Linked DNA regions of Homo sapiens: all the other regions are linked to region 2. Evidence: promoter capture Hi-C in 16 types of primary human blood cells and fetal thymus (Javierre and others, 2016). All regions are on one chromosome and are shown on one strand. Each heading gives the region's core, a stretch centred on a gene start or on the middle of the fragment in contact. The rest is flanking DNA. Distances are from core to core; before and after follow the strand shown.

Region 1 (3,325 bases), core at 417-2,916, 160 kb after region 2:
GACACAACACTGAATGTGCCTAAATCTTCAGGCAATTCTAACTTTGTCCCAGCCAAACCAGTCCCGGAACAAGACAAAACACATGGCTTGAGATGGAAAAGACCAAAATCCCTTGAACGACTACATCCATAATTTATCCTACCACTACTGGACTGCTATGGAGAAGAGTTTGCTGGAAAGAGGCTAAAATGATTACTGAAGTTTTTAAATAAAATAATAGAGCGTGACACAAGGACAAAGCCTTAATGTGTCAGCCATTCTAGGTCCTGTTGTCACAGTGTTTAAGAATTGATATTTCTGAGATGAGTCAGATGCTGCAGCTCAGGAATCTTTACCGTAAAATGCAGCTCAGGGGCTCAGGGTCACAGACCACCAGAAGCGAGAGGGGCCCATCCACTCCTGAGTCAGCAATCATTTCACACCATTCCCAGGCACCGTCCACTCTTCCCTCTTGATGCCATAGCAGATGCCGGGGCAGATAAACACCTGCTCTGCCCTGAGCCCAAAGAAGGCCCAAGATTCACTAATGTTCAGCTGTAATGGCACTTGAAAGAGAAGCTATTTGTAGTCCCAGATCTAACCTAATTCTCACTGTCCTCATCTGCTGTGGACAAGGACGAAGATGCAGTCCCATGACTGTCCCAGCAGGACAGACCAGACACATGGCTTCCCAAAGATACCAGGCTCTTCAAAATCCTGGGCATATGTAAACATCTACTTATAAATAAATATTTGTTTATTTGTAAATAAATACCTCTATATACCTCTAAAATCATCAACTAAGACAGACCGGCCCCTTGAGAAGTTGCCAGTCATCAAACCCTGGTCCAGTCTCTGGGCGTAGGAGGGAGAACTGGAATGTAGTCAGTGCCTCCCACAGAGGGAGGATTTCTCCTCCCATTGCTAGTTGTGTATGTAGTCATTTTTGACTGCTGATTTGCACCAGGCAGCCCATGTAAACAGCCTAATAAATACATTTCCTAAAATTTTTCCATGCTTACATCAACATGCACGAAAATAGGAAAACAGAAAAATGTACATCATATAGTATTACACAATACAGATGTTTCTCTACTTAAGATGGGGGTAAGCCCCAATAATCCTATCTTAAAGCCGAAAAATCTAAATTGAACCATTATAAGTCCACATGCTCATGACTTAGCATGGGGCTATGTCTTGATAATCTCATCGTAAGTTGAAAAGATCCACATTTAAAACGCATGTAATACCCAGATAAACCAGATATAAAGTTAAAAAACTCTAAGTCAAACCACCGTGGTATTACACCATCTTTAGTTGGATGTCATTAAATGCACATACCACTATAGAAGGAGCTTACAATATAAGAAAGTTTTTTCTCATGTGACTTCTCTCATGAAAAGGACTTCTGTCATGATGAACTGAAAAAAAAATGACATCCTAAAACTACCCTTAATACACAATCGTATAACTCTATGCCACCAACATCTTATATAAATTTCCACAGTTTGCTTATCACACACAATATTTCATAAAAATTACTCCAAGTGCGTTGACAAAGTTCTAGGACCTTTGGTAAGCTGCACCATATTGATAGCAGAGTTTGTTGAGGCATGGGTCAAGTACTGGACTCTTTCTTCCAGGCTGCTTCCCTTTGTAGGAGAAAAGGTAAACGAGGGAAGCTCTGGTTTCCTGAAGGGATTCTTTCACAGGCAGGACGTAGCAGAGCCTGCATTCACCTTCCTCATAGAAGAGATTTTTGGAGCCCACCAGTTGGTCCTGAATTATTTCCTTTGCATGTCTTTCTTTCAGTGTTTGAGGCCTCCAGCAAGGTGTTGACTGAGAAGAAGAGGAAAGAGAGGGATTTAGGGTCTTCATGCTCCAAAGATCATCAGCACAGGATCGGCATAGGACCCCCTACTTCCAGCAGGGAATGCTCCAGAAGAGCACTCTCAGCTATGGGGCTAGCAGTTAGGACATCGTCCCTATTGCCTCCATTCCTTCTACATCTCCAGGCACAAAACACTTACTCTCAGTGGGGTCAGCGCCATTCACTGGAACCAGCAGCCTCCTCCCATGACCCTTTCAGCTTTTGCCTGTTCCTGTAACACACAGTGGGGAATGCTCTGGTCAGAGTCAGGAATCCTGCAGTCTAGTACTGACCCCGATCACCAGCCAGCAAGAGACCTACAGAGCTTCCCCTCTCAGGTCTCTGTGGAGATGGAGACAAACCTCTGGTCCTGCATAGCTCTTGGGCTCTGTGTGCTGGTGACTCATTGAAACAAAAGTGACAGGGAGTAAATGCTCACTTCATAAGTGTTCTGCCCAACTTTGACTACTGTATACACCTGTGTAATAATCCTATGATCAAGACATAGAACATTGCCACACCCCAGAAAGTCCCTTTCTTCCCCATCTCATCAATTTCCACCCACCCTCACAGGAGAGAATCACTTCATTACAGAATTTTTACCAACAGAAGTCTCAACAGAGGACTATGTATGAGAGCGCTCAGGAAACATCTAACAAAAGAATTTATTCCAAGACTCCAAAAGTTCTTTGATCATCAATACTGTACCATATCAACAATCTAAATAAGGAAATAAAGCATCAGTCTCTATGGAGGCTGAAAAGACATTTGGTGAAATTAAACACCAATTCTGAATTTTTGGAACCCCTTTAGAATAGGAGGCTGCATTCTTGATGATGTGAATTTCTTTCTATATGAAACCAAAAGTGAACACCATTCCTAAAGGTGGCATGTTAGAGGCCTTCCCCGGAAATCAAATCAGGACCCAAACACCTGCCTTCCCTAAGCGCAGCTGAACATGGTTCTGAAATTTCTGGCCTGTGCAACAAGATGGAAAACAAAAATGAGGCAAGATTCTTGGAAGTGGGCAGACACAATAATCATTATATTCAATGTCACTTAAAAACCCTAAGAATGGGGCCGACCAGGCACAGTGGCTCACGCCTGTAATCCCAGCACTTTGGGAGGCCGAAGCAGGTGGATCACGAGGTCAGGAGATTGAGACCATCCTTGCTAACACGGTGAAACCCCGTCTCTACTAAAAATACAAAAAAAAAAAAAAAAAACTAGCCAGGCATGGTGGCACATGCCTGTAGTCCCAGTTACTCGGGAGGCTGAGGCAGGAGAATCGCTTGAACTCAGGAGGCGGAGGTTGCAGTGAGCCGAGATTGCACCACTGCACTCCAGCCTGGGCGACACAGCCAGACTCTGTCAAAAACAAACAAACAGAAACAAACAACCCTAAGAATGAAACTATGATATGGAAATATAAATGTATGTCTGAAGGAATGTTAAAAACATAGTAGATGCAATAAA
Region 2 (3,517 bases), core at 909-3,408:
TAATTGAATCAATAATTAACAACATCCACACAGAAAGCATTAGGCCCAGATGGTTTCATTTGATAAGTTCTACCAAATATTTAAGAAAAAAGTTGTACCAGTTCTGTGCCATCTCTTTTATAAGATAGAAACAAAAGGAATACTTCCCAACTGATCCTATGAGGCAAGGATTACCCTAACGCCAAAACCACACAAAGACATTACAAGAAAGAAAAAACACAAAACAATATATCTTGTGAATATAGATGCAAAAATCATCAATAGAATGTTAGCAAATTGAAACCCACAATGTATCAAAAGAATTGTACACCAGGTTAAAGCGGAATTTATTACAGCTAGGCAAGGCTAGTTCAATGTTCAAAAATCAATTAATATAATCCACCAACAGACTAAAGAAAAATCATATGATCATATTGCTAGATGCAGAAAAAGCATTTGACAAAATCCAACACCAGCTCATGATAAAAAGTCTCGGCACTCTAGGAATAGAGGGACACATCCTCCACTTGATAAAGAACATAAACAGGAACCTTACAGCCAACATAAGAATTAATGGTGAAAACCTAGATCGTTTTCCAGTGGAATCAGGAATAACACAAGAATGTCTGCTCACACCATTCCTAGTCAACACTGTACGGGAAATCCTAGCTAACACAGTTAGCCAAGAAAAAGAAATAAAAGTTGTACAGACTGAAGAGGAAGAAATAAAATGGTCTGTCTTTATAGAAGACATAATTATCCATGCAGAAAATTATGAAAGAATTGCCAAATCGATGTCCTGGAACTAAGAGGCAATGAGAACAAGATTGCAGATACAAAGTTAATGTATAAAAGTCAATTCCCATATACCTATAATGATCAAGTGGAATATGAAATTAAAAATGCAATACCATTTACATTAGCACCCCCCTATAAAACTTAGGTATAAATCTAACACGGTATGTACAAATTCTACATAAGGAAAACTACAAAATTCTGATGAAAGAAATCTATGAAGGACTAAATAAATACAGAGGCATTTTATATTCATGGACAGGAAAACTCAATATTATCAAGATATCAATTCTTCCCAAATTGATCTGTAGATCCAGTGAAATCCCAGTGAAAATCATGGCTAGTTATTTTGTGGATATCAACAAACTAATTCTAAAGTTTATGTGGAAAGGCAAAAGACCCAGAAGAGCCAACACAATATTGAACAAATAAGTCAGAGGACGGATACAACCCAACTTCAAGAATTACTATAAATCAACAGTAATCAAGATAGTGTGGTATTAGTTAAAGAATAAACAAATAGATAAATGGAACAGAATAGGAATCCCAGAAATAGGCACATGTAAATACAGTCAACTGACCTTTCGAAAAAAGAAAGGCAATACAATGGTTCAAAGAGTCTTTTCAACAATGAGCACTGGAACAACTGTACACCTACATGCAAAAACAAAAACAAATCCAGGTACAGATCTTACACCATTCACAAAAGCCAGCTCAAATGGATCATGGACTTAAATGTAAAAACACAAAACAATAAAACTCCTAGAAGACAAAACATCTAGATGACCTTGGGCATCATGATTACTTTTTAGATACAACACAAAAAGCATAATCCATGAAAGAAATAATTGATAAATTAGACGTAATTATTATTATTATTATTATTTGCTTTCTGAAAGACACTGTGAAGAGAATGTGAAGATAAGCCACAGACTGGTAGAAACTATTTGCAAAAGACATCTCTGATAAAGGACTGTTATCCAAAACACACGAGGAACTCTTAAGACTCAAAAAAAAAAGAAAAAGAATAACCCAGTTAAAACATGGATAAAAGATCTGAGCAGACCTCTCACCAAAGAAGATCTACCAACGGCAAATAAGTATATGATAATATGCCCAACATCATATGTCATTGGGGAACAGCAAATTAGACAAGAATAGCATACTACTACACACCTATTAGAATGGTGAAAATCCAAAATACTGACCACACCAAATGCTGGTGAGGATGCAGAGCAACAGGAACTCTCATTCATTGCTGGTGGAAATGCAAACTGGTACAGCTACCGTAAGGTTGGCCAAGAGAAAAGACGAGTATACTCAAAGTCAGGCAAGCAAGTTTATTGACCTGCCGGCCTGCTGCATAACAGTCAGAGGAGGCAGCCCAGGGTGTTTAAGGTGAGGGACTTATATAGGGCTTTGAGGGCCTAGGGGCTTTCTGAGGTTAGTCTACATCCTGCAGTTGTTTGTCACTTCTTGCCCCACCTGGCTTAGAGTACCAGGATGTGGTTTGGCCTGGGGGTGGATACAGCTGTACCTAAGTTCTGGTAACGTGAAGTAGGGGCAGCATCTCAGAAGAAATAAGCTGCAGGGCATTTAGGGGAGGGGGCTTGCTGCGTTCTTCTGTGGACAGGTTGTCTCTAAGAGCTACTTTGGAAGACAGTTTGGTCGTTTTTCACAAAATTAAACATTCTCTTCCCATGCAAGTTTACTTATAGTTTAACTTTGAAACAAAGTATAACAGTCCTTTCCCAAAACAAAACTCCTTACTGCCTGTGGACTAGACTGCCTAGACTGCCACAAGATTAGAAGTTATGGTAATTTTACTAAATCAAGATGTAGCTATTTTCATTAAACCAGTATCAATGTCTTATTTATTAATGGTTACACGAGCAGAGATCATTCTGTCTTGGGCTGGGTTTATAGCCTGTGCCAAATTTTGACACCTAATAGTATTTGGCAGGGTTAAGTATGAAATTGCTTGATTAATAAACGCAAATAAAAATGTATGCTGGCAATTCCTAAGACATTTCTAATATTACTTTACCAATAATTTTAAAGATAGCTTATTTATTAAAGATTTTACTTAAGTCACATAACTTGAAAAAGCATTTGACTAGTCTTTCCTTTTTCTAATAAAGTATTTGATGTAAATGCTTTTATTTTTTAAGACAATTAATTAGAGCTCTTTGATATATTTTCAGGAGTGCAACATTGTATACATAACATATAAATACATAGATGTATTAGGCATGCTGATAGAAGAAGTACATCTTACAGATTCATAAAAACCTTTTTTCTTTATCTTAGACTTTCAGATTCTTGATAACCTGTTTCACAGTGCTAGGCAGTAGTCAGCTAAATAGTCTTAAATTTGCATATTAAAGGAAACAACTCAGGTGAAAGTCAGATAGCAAAATTTACATTATAAGGTCTGAAGAGAAATTCTGTGAGCTAGAGGGAAATTAAAACAGATTTAATTGCCAATTGAACATAAAATTATAGAAATTTATCACTGGATTGTATAAGGAGACCACTGTTATTTAGATAGGGACTACCAATTCTTTTTTAACTGGATCTCTGAGCTCTGGGCAGAGCCCACACTGAATCCTGGGTCTCCAAAAAGGGAGAATTATTATGAGGCTAGACCACATGATGCTTTTACAGTGCACTTAAAACATTTTTGTAAACAAAGCATTTCTAAGTGTCTAAACTATACTCTTTCTTAAAAACCCAAGAGTAG
Region 3 (3,466 bases), core at 703-3,202, 180 kb before region 2:
GTCAGTGCCTATTTCCAACACTAACCATGTTGACAGGTCTGAAAAGCCATGGTTCTGTGTTTTTGTTTTCAGTCTGTTTCCATTTGTCCTATGAATTGGCATGTGCCCTGTGGGTTTTTTTGGTTTTTTTGAGATCCGGAAATGCTAATGGTTTGCACAGAGGGGGTCGTGAGGTGCAGGTCACCTCTGTCAGAGTCACAGTGTCTTCTTTTGGAAACGTCATGAAAAGACAAAGGAGTGCCCGGCTAATCCCAAAGCACGCCTTGGCAGAGTGGATCTGCCTGGAGCATCCATCCGTGGCAGCATGAAAGGCAATCCTGTGAGAGTCTTCCTGGCCCCACCTCGTCTGGGAGCATGTGGGCCTGTGATCCCACCTCCTCCTAACAAAAGAAGAGTGTGTCTGTTGATGTGTTTTATTTTGCTTTTAGCCAGGCTAGTCCCCCTGCCCTTGCGCAGTCCAGCCTCTTTCTATTAATAGATCTATTAAGGTTGACTGAGACCTGCTGCAGGGGACGCTAGGGGCACTTTGGCCTTCGATCTTTGCCTTTCACCCTTGACACTGTTTGGCAGGTGAACGACATCCGGGCTCCAGACTTCATGGCCACTTCAACATTTCTGTCAACAGCCTGTGTCTGTTTCATGTAAGAGGCCCAAACAAGAAAATCAAGGCTTAAGAAGGATTTCTGCCTTGAGTAAAGGACTGAAACCTCCTCACAGAACACGATGGTGACAGGCACAAAAGACAGACTTCTTGTTTAAGTAGGTGAACTCCAAAGACGAGAGAAAAGGAGTTTTTTTCCTCCCGTTCAACCAGTCATCAAATAAACATCTCAGGCATCTGGTGTTTTGTCAAGGGATTGGGATTCCAGTGGCCCCTGTGTGACTGGAAGGGGAAAGGTTTGTCGGTGGCAACGCCATCGAAACACAAAGGAGCAGCTTTAGAATCCCCAGTGTGGGTCTTCTCTTGTGTTATTTCTACAACATCCTTGTGCCAGCTGTTCTTGCTGTTCTCTCAGGCTTCTAATTGGGAGTGTGAATACTACCTTTCACCCTTTTTGCCTTCATGAGAATCAGAGTTTGAAGTGGACAGTTCTGAAAATATTAATCATCTTTTTTTTTTTTTTTTTTTTTTTTTGAGACGGAGTCTCACTCTGTCGCCCAGGCTGGAGTGCAGTGGCGCGATCTCGGCTCACTGCAAGCTCCGCCTCCCGGGTTCACGCCATTCTCCTGCCTCAGCCTCCCTAGTAGCTGGGACTACAGGCGCCTGCCACCACACCCAGCTAATTTTTTGTATTTTTAATAGAGACGGGGTTTCACCGTGTTAGCCAGGATGGTCTCGATCTCCTGACCTCGTGATCCACCTGCCTCGGCCTCCCAAAGTGCTAGGATTACAGGCGTGAGTCACCGCACCGGGCCTAATCACCTTATTCTTGCCTGTCATTACACAAGCCTTAAACTCCAGGGACCAGACTTAGCACTTTCTTTTCCTAAGATTGCTTTTTCTCCCACTTGGCCCAAGCTTTAATACCCAGATTTTAGACTCAAAACACTTAAAACATTTGGTGGGCTCTCCTCAGCCTTGTAAAGTTCTTTGATACTGGTCATGGCAGCACAAGAGAATTTTCTGGAAGTTCCTGGCTGTTTAATGTTCAAATTACACGTTTAAATTCTCTCCCACCTCCCGTGGCCCTGTTTTCCATCAGTGTATCTATTTCTGGCCCAAATGTCCTTGAACATGGACCATGACAGGTCCTGTGTTTACTTTCCATGTTTCTACATTTATAATCCAGTAAAGAAGACACCGAGTAGTACATAGTATTTTGTAAATATTTGTAAACTAATGAAAATCTGGTTTCTTTCACAAATCACCTCTTTAGGTTTCTAAAATTTATGAAAGAAATCTTTTAAAATCTATTCTAGGCCGGGTGCAGTGGCTTACGCCTGTAATCCCAGCACTTTGAGAGGCCAAGGCAGGCGGATCACGAGGTCAGGAGTTTGAGACCAGCCTGGCCAACATAGTGAAACCCTGTCTCTACTAAAAATACAAAAATTAGCTGGGCAAGGTGGCGGGCGCCTGTAGTCCCAGCTACTCAGGAGGCTGAGGCAGGAGAATCACTTGAACCCAGGAGGCGGAGTTTGCAGTGAGCCAAGATTGTGCTACTGCACTCCAGTCTAGGCGACAGAGCAAGACTCTGTCTAAAATATATATATATTTTATTCTCAATTTTTGCTGTTCTTTCCAGATGTGCAGAGTTGTGTGTGGTTTTAAAACCATATGCAATGTGCCGTGAAGGGCGGGATGGAACCCAGGCCTCTGAGTCTCAGTTCTCTGTTCACTTCCCTCCACCAGAGTTTGTTAAGGGAGTGTTGCATTTTAAAGCTTTATTTAGAAAAACTTAGGAAAACCAAGTTTACCTCAAGTGGTTTCCTTTTTTCGCAACCTGTTCAGCCTTGACAGAAAGGAAAAAGAAATCCCAGAATTAGGTAGTAATAATAGAGGCAAAGTGAGATTGATATTTTCTGAAGCCCTGCTTACAGAAAATAATTCCTGCATATTTATTTTATTCTAAACATAGCTTCAGATTGTTTTTCATTCTAAGTTGTCCTTAAAAGTCACTTTTTAAACCTCACAAGAAGCACCAAATGTAAGGGGGAAAGGATGGATTTGACTACATCTAAAGTAAGACTTTCTGTTCATCAAAGCTAACAGATGGCAGACTAAGAAGGTATTTGCAGTGACTGAAATTGAAAAGGGATTAAAATGTACAAAGTTTCATGCAAAACAACAAGAAAAAGGAAATCCAAAAGAAAAAACCGGCCATGGATATTAATAGGTGATTCACAGCAGGGGAAACCCAAATGGTGAACAAGAGATAAACTAAGCTGAAGAAATGCAAATGTAAATTAAGACCCACTACCTTATGCCCCTCAGAATTGCCAGACTTCAAGTGCTGGCAGTGATGCGGGGCCTGGACTTCAATATTGCTGGTGGTGGTGCAAACTGCAATGCGTACCCCAGAAGGGAAGCTGGCAGCTTAAAAGTTAGCAGCGTGTGTGCCCTTTGATTCAGAGAGCCACTTGCGCGTGGCTCTCCGGAGAGATTTCTACCTGGGTCCATGAATGGACTTACGGAAGGATTCCTTGGTAATGATTCTGAGTGACTGTGTTGATGGAGGCAAGCAAGGTCTTGGACAAGTCAAAGGCGGCAGGTGCGTACCATGGAATACTGTATAGCCATGAGAGACAGACCTAGAACTATGAACAGCAAGCGGGTGGCTCTTAAAAATAGTGTTGAATACTGAAAGCAAGACATGAGAATTGTTGTATAATGCCATTATGTTAATGTAGGGCATACGGCACTGTATGTCCTATGAGGATGTGCATATTTTGATTCAAATACATTAAAATGGACGTTATGGGGACACAGATTATTTATGAAAGGAGGAGAAAAGATAAAACTGATTTC
Region 4 (3,534 bases), core at 185-2,684, 160 kb before region 2:
GGTGAACCTGGGAGATGGAGCTTGCAGTGAGCGAAGATCGCGTCACTGCAGCCTGGGCAACAGAGCCAGACTCCGTCTCAAAAACAAAAAACAAAGAACAAACAAAAAAGATAGACCGGTTTAGGGAAGGCATTTCCCATGAAGGGAGCTTGCAGGACTGGAAGTTGCTTTGGCTGAGTCAGGGAGTGCGTGGTGAGTGAATGTACACTGTACACTGCTGTGGGCTTTATAAACACTGCACACTTAGGCTACACTCAATTTATACATAATACTTATTTTTTCAATAATAAATTAGCCTGAGCTTACTGTAACTCTTTTACTTTATAAACTTTTTAGTTTTTAAAACATTTTTTGACTCTTGTAATAACACTTAGCTTCAAACACAAACACTTTGTACAGCTGTACCAAATTTTTAAATTTCTTTAGTATTCTGTAAGCTTTTTTTCTATTTTAAAAATTATTTACTTTTGTCTGTGTTGTAAACTTTTTTGTTAAAGACGAAGACACAAACACGCACATTAGCCTAGGCCCGCACAGGGTCAGGATCATCAATGTCAGTCCTCCACCTCCACATCTTGGTCCAGGAAGGTCTTCAGGGGCGTTAACAGACATGGAGCTGTCATCTCCTAGGATAACAATGCCTTCTTCTGGATACTTCCTGAAGCACCTGACTGAGGATGTTTTACAGTTAGGCTTGTTTTTTTTTGTTTTTTTTTTTTTTGAGATGGAGTCTCACTCTGTCACCCAGGCTGGAGTGCAGTGGCACAATCTCGTCTCACTACAACCTCCACCTCCCGGGTTCAAGTGATTCTCCCACCTCAGCCTCCCAAGTAACTGGGATTACAGGCGCCCGCCACCATGCCTGGGCTAATTTTTATATTTTTTAGTAGAGACAGGGTTTCACCGTATTGGCCAGGCTGGTCTCGAACTCCTGACCACAGGTCATCCGCTTGCCTTGGCCTCCCAAAGTGATGGGATAACAGGCATGAGCCACTGCACCCGGACAGCTTTTTTTTTTTTTTAATAAGTAAAAGTACACCCTAAAATAACAATTAAAAGTATAGTATAGTAAATATATAAGCCAGTACCATAGTGATTTATTATCATTATCAATTATTATGTACTATACGTAGTGACATGTGCTAGACTGTCATATGACTGGCAGCTTGTATGTTGTTTACACCAGCATCACTACAAACACATGAATAATTTATTGCATGACAATGTCACAACAGCTATGGCGTCAATAGGAGAGAGAAATTTTTCAGCTCTATTATAACATTATGAGACCACCAAGTGATACGGGACCACCAACATATACCTGGACCATCATTGACTGAAATGGCATTATGCGGCACGTGACAATATTTCCAAATCACCTTCCCAGATGGCTGGATCAATGTTTGTTTGGTTGGTTGATTGGTTCCCCATTTAATTCAACAAATAGACCATATGGAGCCTCTTCTGCAGTTCTATAAATTTAACTACTCGTTTCTGCATTTTTATTCATCTAAGTAATCATTACTAATACCTACTAAAATTATTCCTACTTTCCCACTTCATCAGACGGGCCTTCCCTGGCCACCCCTACTGGACTAGCACCTGAGCCTCCTTCACCTTCTGTGCTCACCAGCTTTAGTCTTCTCTGTAGCACTCTGTCACCAACCGACTCCCACATTTCCTCATTTCTGTGTCTTTGTGTCTTGTCAGTCTCCTACTCTGGCATATAAGCACCATGAAGGCACAGACCGGCTACAGCATTGGCTGGGCCTCCCTGGAGCCTCAGGCTATGCCTACTGGGACATGCTATGCTTCTTTCAATCTAAGTCGGTCCAGACTGGTAGGAGAGTGATTTGGCAAGAGAGTGCAAAAGCCAAGGGAAAAAAAAGAAAGAATCGCCTCTAGCCTTTGACTCAGTAATCACATTCTGGGAATGGATCCTAATGCAGTAATTCACATGACCCCTGGGGATGGGGTGGACAGGAGGTGTTGCCTTCCCTCTCCCTGTGTGGGGTCTGAAGCCCTGAGGGACAAGGAGTCACTGTGCCCTCCTCAAAGATGCCCTCCTCACAACGCAACATTTATTGTCCAAGTACCATACGAGGGACTGTTCTGAGTCTGAGCCCATTCAGTCCTTTTACTCCTTTGGAGCTTTTTTTTTTTTTTTAACAGATACCGCTTTGTCACCCGGGCTGGAGTGCAGTGGCATGATCTCAGTTCAAATGCAGCCTTGACTTCCTGGGCTCAAGTGATCCTCCTGCCTCAGCGCCCCAAGTAGCTAGGACTACAAGCCCATACCACCACGCCTGGCTAATTTTTATATTTTTTGTAGAGACAGGGTTTTGCCATGTTGCCCAGGCTGGTCTCAAACTCCTGGACTCAAGCAACCCACCCACCTTGGCCTCCCACAGTGCTGAGATTACAAGCTTAAGCCACTCCACTCAACCTCTTAGGAGCATTTTGAGGCGCTTCTTACAGATGAAGCATGTGAAGGAAAAGGGAGTTCACATCAGTTAATGGTGGAGCCAAGATTTGAACCCAGGCCCCCTGACTGCACAAGCATGCCCTGAACCTACTGTACGACTCTGCCTCTGCAGCAGTGCAGGACCTGAGTGGTGGAGGTGGCAGGGTGGGAGGTGTATCCAGACTTACAGACATAAGGCATCCCGCCATCATTTTGTTTCATCTGGGACAAGGGTCTACTGTTGTCCTGAAGTAGTCTCCTAGGTCTTGATTTCAATTCAACAAAAGGGCATCAATAAAACACTCAGTGCAAACTTCAGATACTCTACTCATTTCCTCTTGGAAGTGAGGACATGGTAAGGCAGAGATGGACTTACTGAGGCCTCCAGTGTGGGCCACTAATACTTGCTGGACGAGTCAAGCTCCTTTTGGTTCTCCCAGCTCGGCCATTCCCTGCCTCTGTGACGCTGGGAAAATCACTTCTCTGAGCCAGGGCTTTCTCATCTGTAACAATTAGCAGGAACCACACTGTACCCAATCAATAAATATTACTTTCACAGGGGTAATTGTCATGGCGTAATTTACACTAGCAAAAAGCTGTAAACAACTGAATATCCAATAATGGAGAAATGACTCCATTGCACAATAATTTCAGACCAGAACTGTCTAAAACCATTAAAAATTACATTGAAAAATTAACACAAAATGATATAGTAAAAAAAATCAGAGGCCAGGTGAAGTGGCTCACGTCTGTAATCCCAGCACTTTGGGAGGCAGAGGTGGGTGGATCACTTGAAACCAGGAGTTCAAGGACAGCCCGGCCAGCATGGTGAAACCCTGTCTCTACTAAAAATACAAAAATTAGCCACACGTGATGGCACATGCCTGTAATCCCAGCTACTCGGGAGGCTGAGACAGACTTGGGAAGCTGAACCTGGGAGGGGGAGGTTGCAGTGAGCCGAGACTGCGCCACTGAACTCCAGCTTGGGAGTCAGAGCTAGAGTCTGTCTCAAAAAAAAAAAAAAAAAAAAATCAGGATACAAAAACTGTAACTACAATTTGGTTGAACAA

The links. Contacts are between HindIII fragments. The CHiCAGO score rates a contact against its expected background, and 5 or more counts as called.
Region 1: a fragment that was not itself captured here is called in contact with the fragment with the promoter of CHMP7 in region 2 in 3 of 17 cell types (non-activated CD4 T cells, naive CD8 T cells and total CD8 T cells); the score reaches 6.7 in non-activated CD4 T cells.
Region 3: a fragment that was not itself captured here is called in contact with the fragment with the promoter of CHMP7 in region 2 in 1 of 17 cell types (M1 macrophages); the score reaches 5.4 in M1 macrophages.
Region 4: a contact is called between a fragment that was not itself captured here and the fragment with the promoter of CHMP7 in region 2, in 4 of 17 cell types (M0 macrophages, M2 macrophages, endothelial precursors and 1 more). The highest score is 7.1, in M0 macrophages.

Annotation. Positions count from the first base shown.
Region 1 is chr8:23,079,741-23,083,065 of GRCh38, reverse strand. It overlaps the pseudogene TNFRSF10B-AS1. Among named protein-coding and RNA genes, the nearest start is that of TNFRSF10B, 12 kb to the right of the region's middle. The HindIII fragment of the contact is 3,866 bases long and covers 1-3,325 here.
Region 2 is chr8:23,242,278-23,245,794 of GRCh38, reverse strand. CHMP7 (charged multivesicular body protein 7) reads right to left here and starts at 2,158. Exons shown (of 11, transcript NM_152272.5): 1 at 1,951-2,158. RefSeq lists an enhancer at 1,965-2,466. The HindIII fragment of the contact is 15,350 bases long and covers 1-3,517 here.
Region 3 is chr8:23,424,794-23,428,259 of GRCh38, reverse strand. No RefSeq gene overlaps it. Among named protein-coding and RNA genes, the nearest start is that of LOXL2, 22 kb to the right of the region's middle. The HindIII fragment of the contact is 861 bases long and covers 1,522-2,382 here.
Region 4 is chr8:23,406,292-23,409,825 of GRCh38, reverse strand. No RefSeq gene overlaps it. Among named protein-coding and RNA genes, the nearest start is that of LOXL2, 3.9 kb to the right of the region's middle. The HindIII fragment of the contact is 1,989 bases long and covers 440-2,428 here.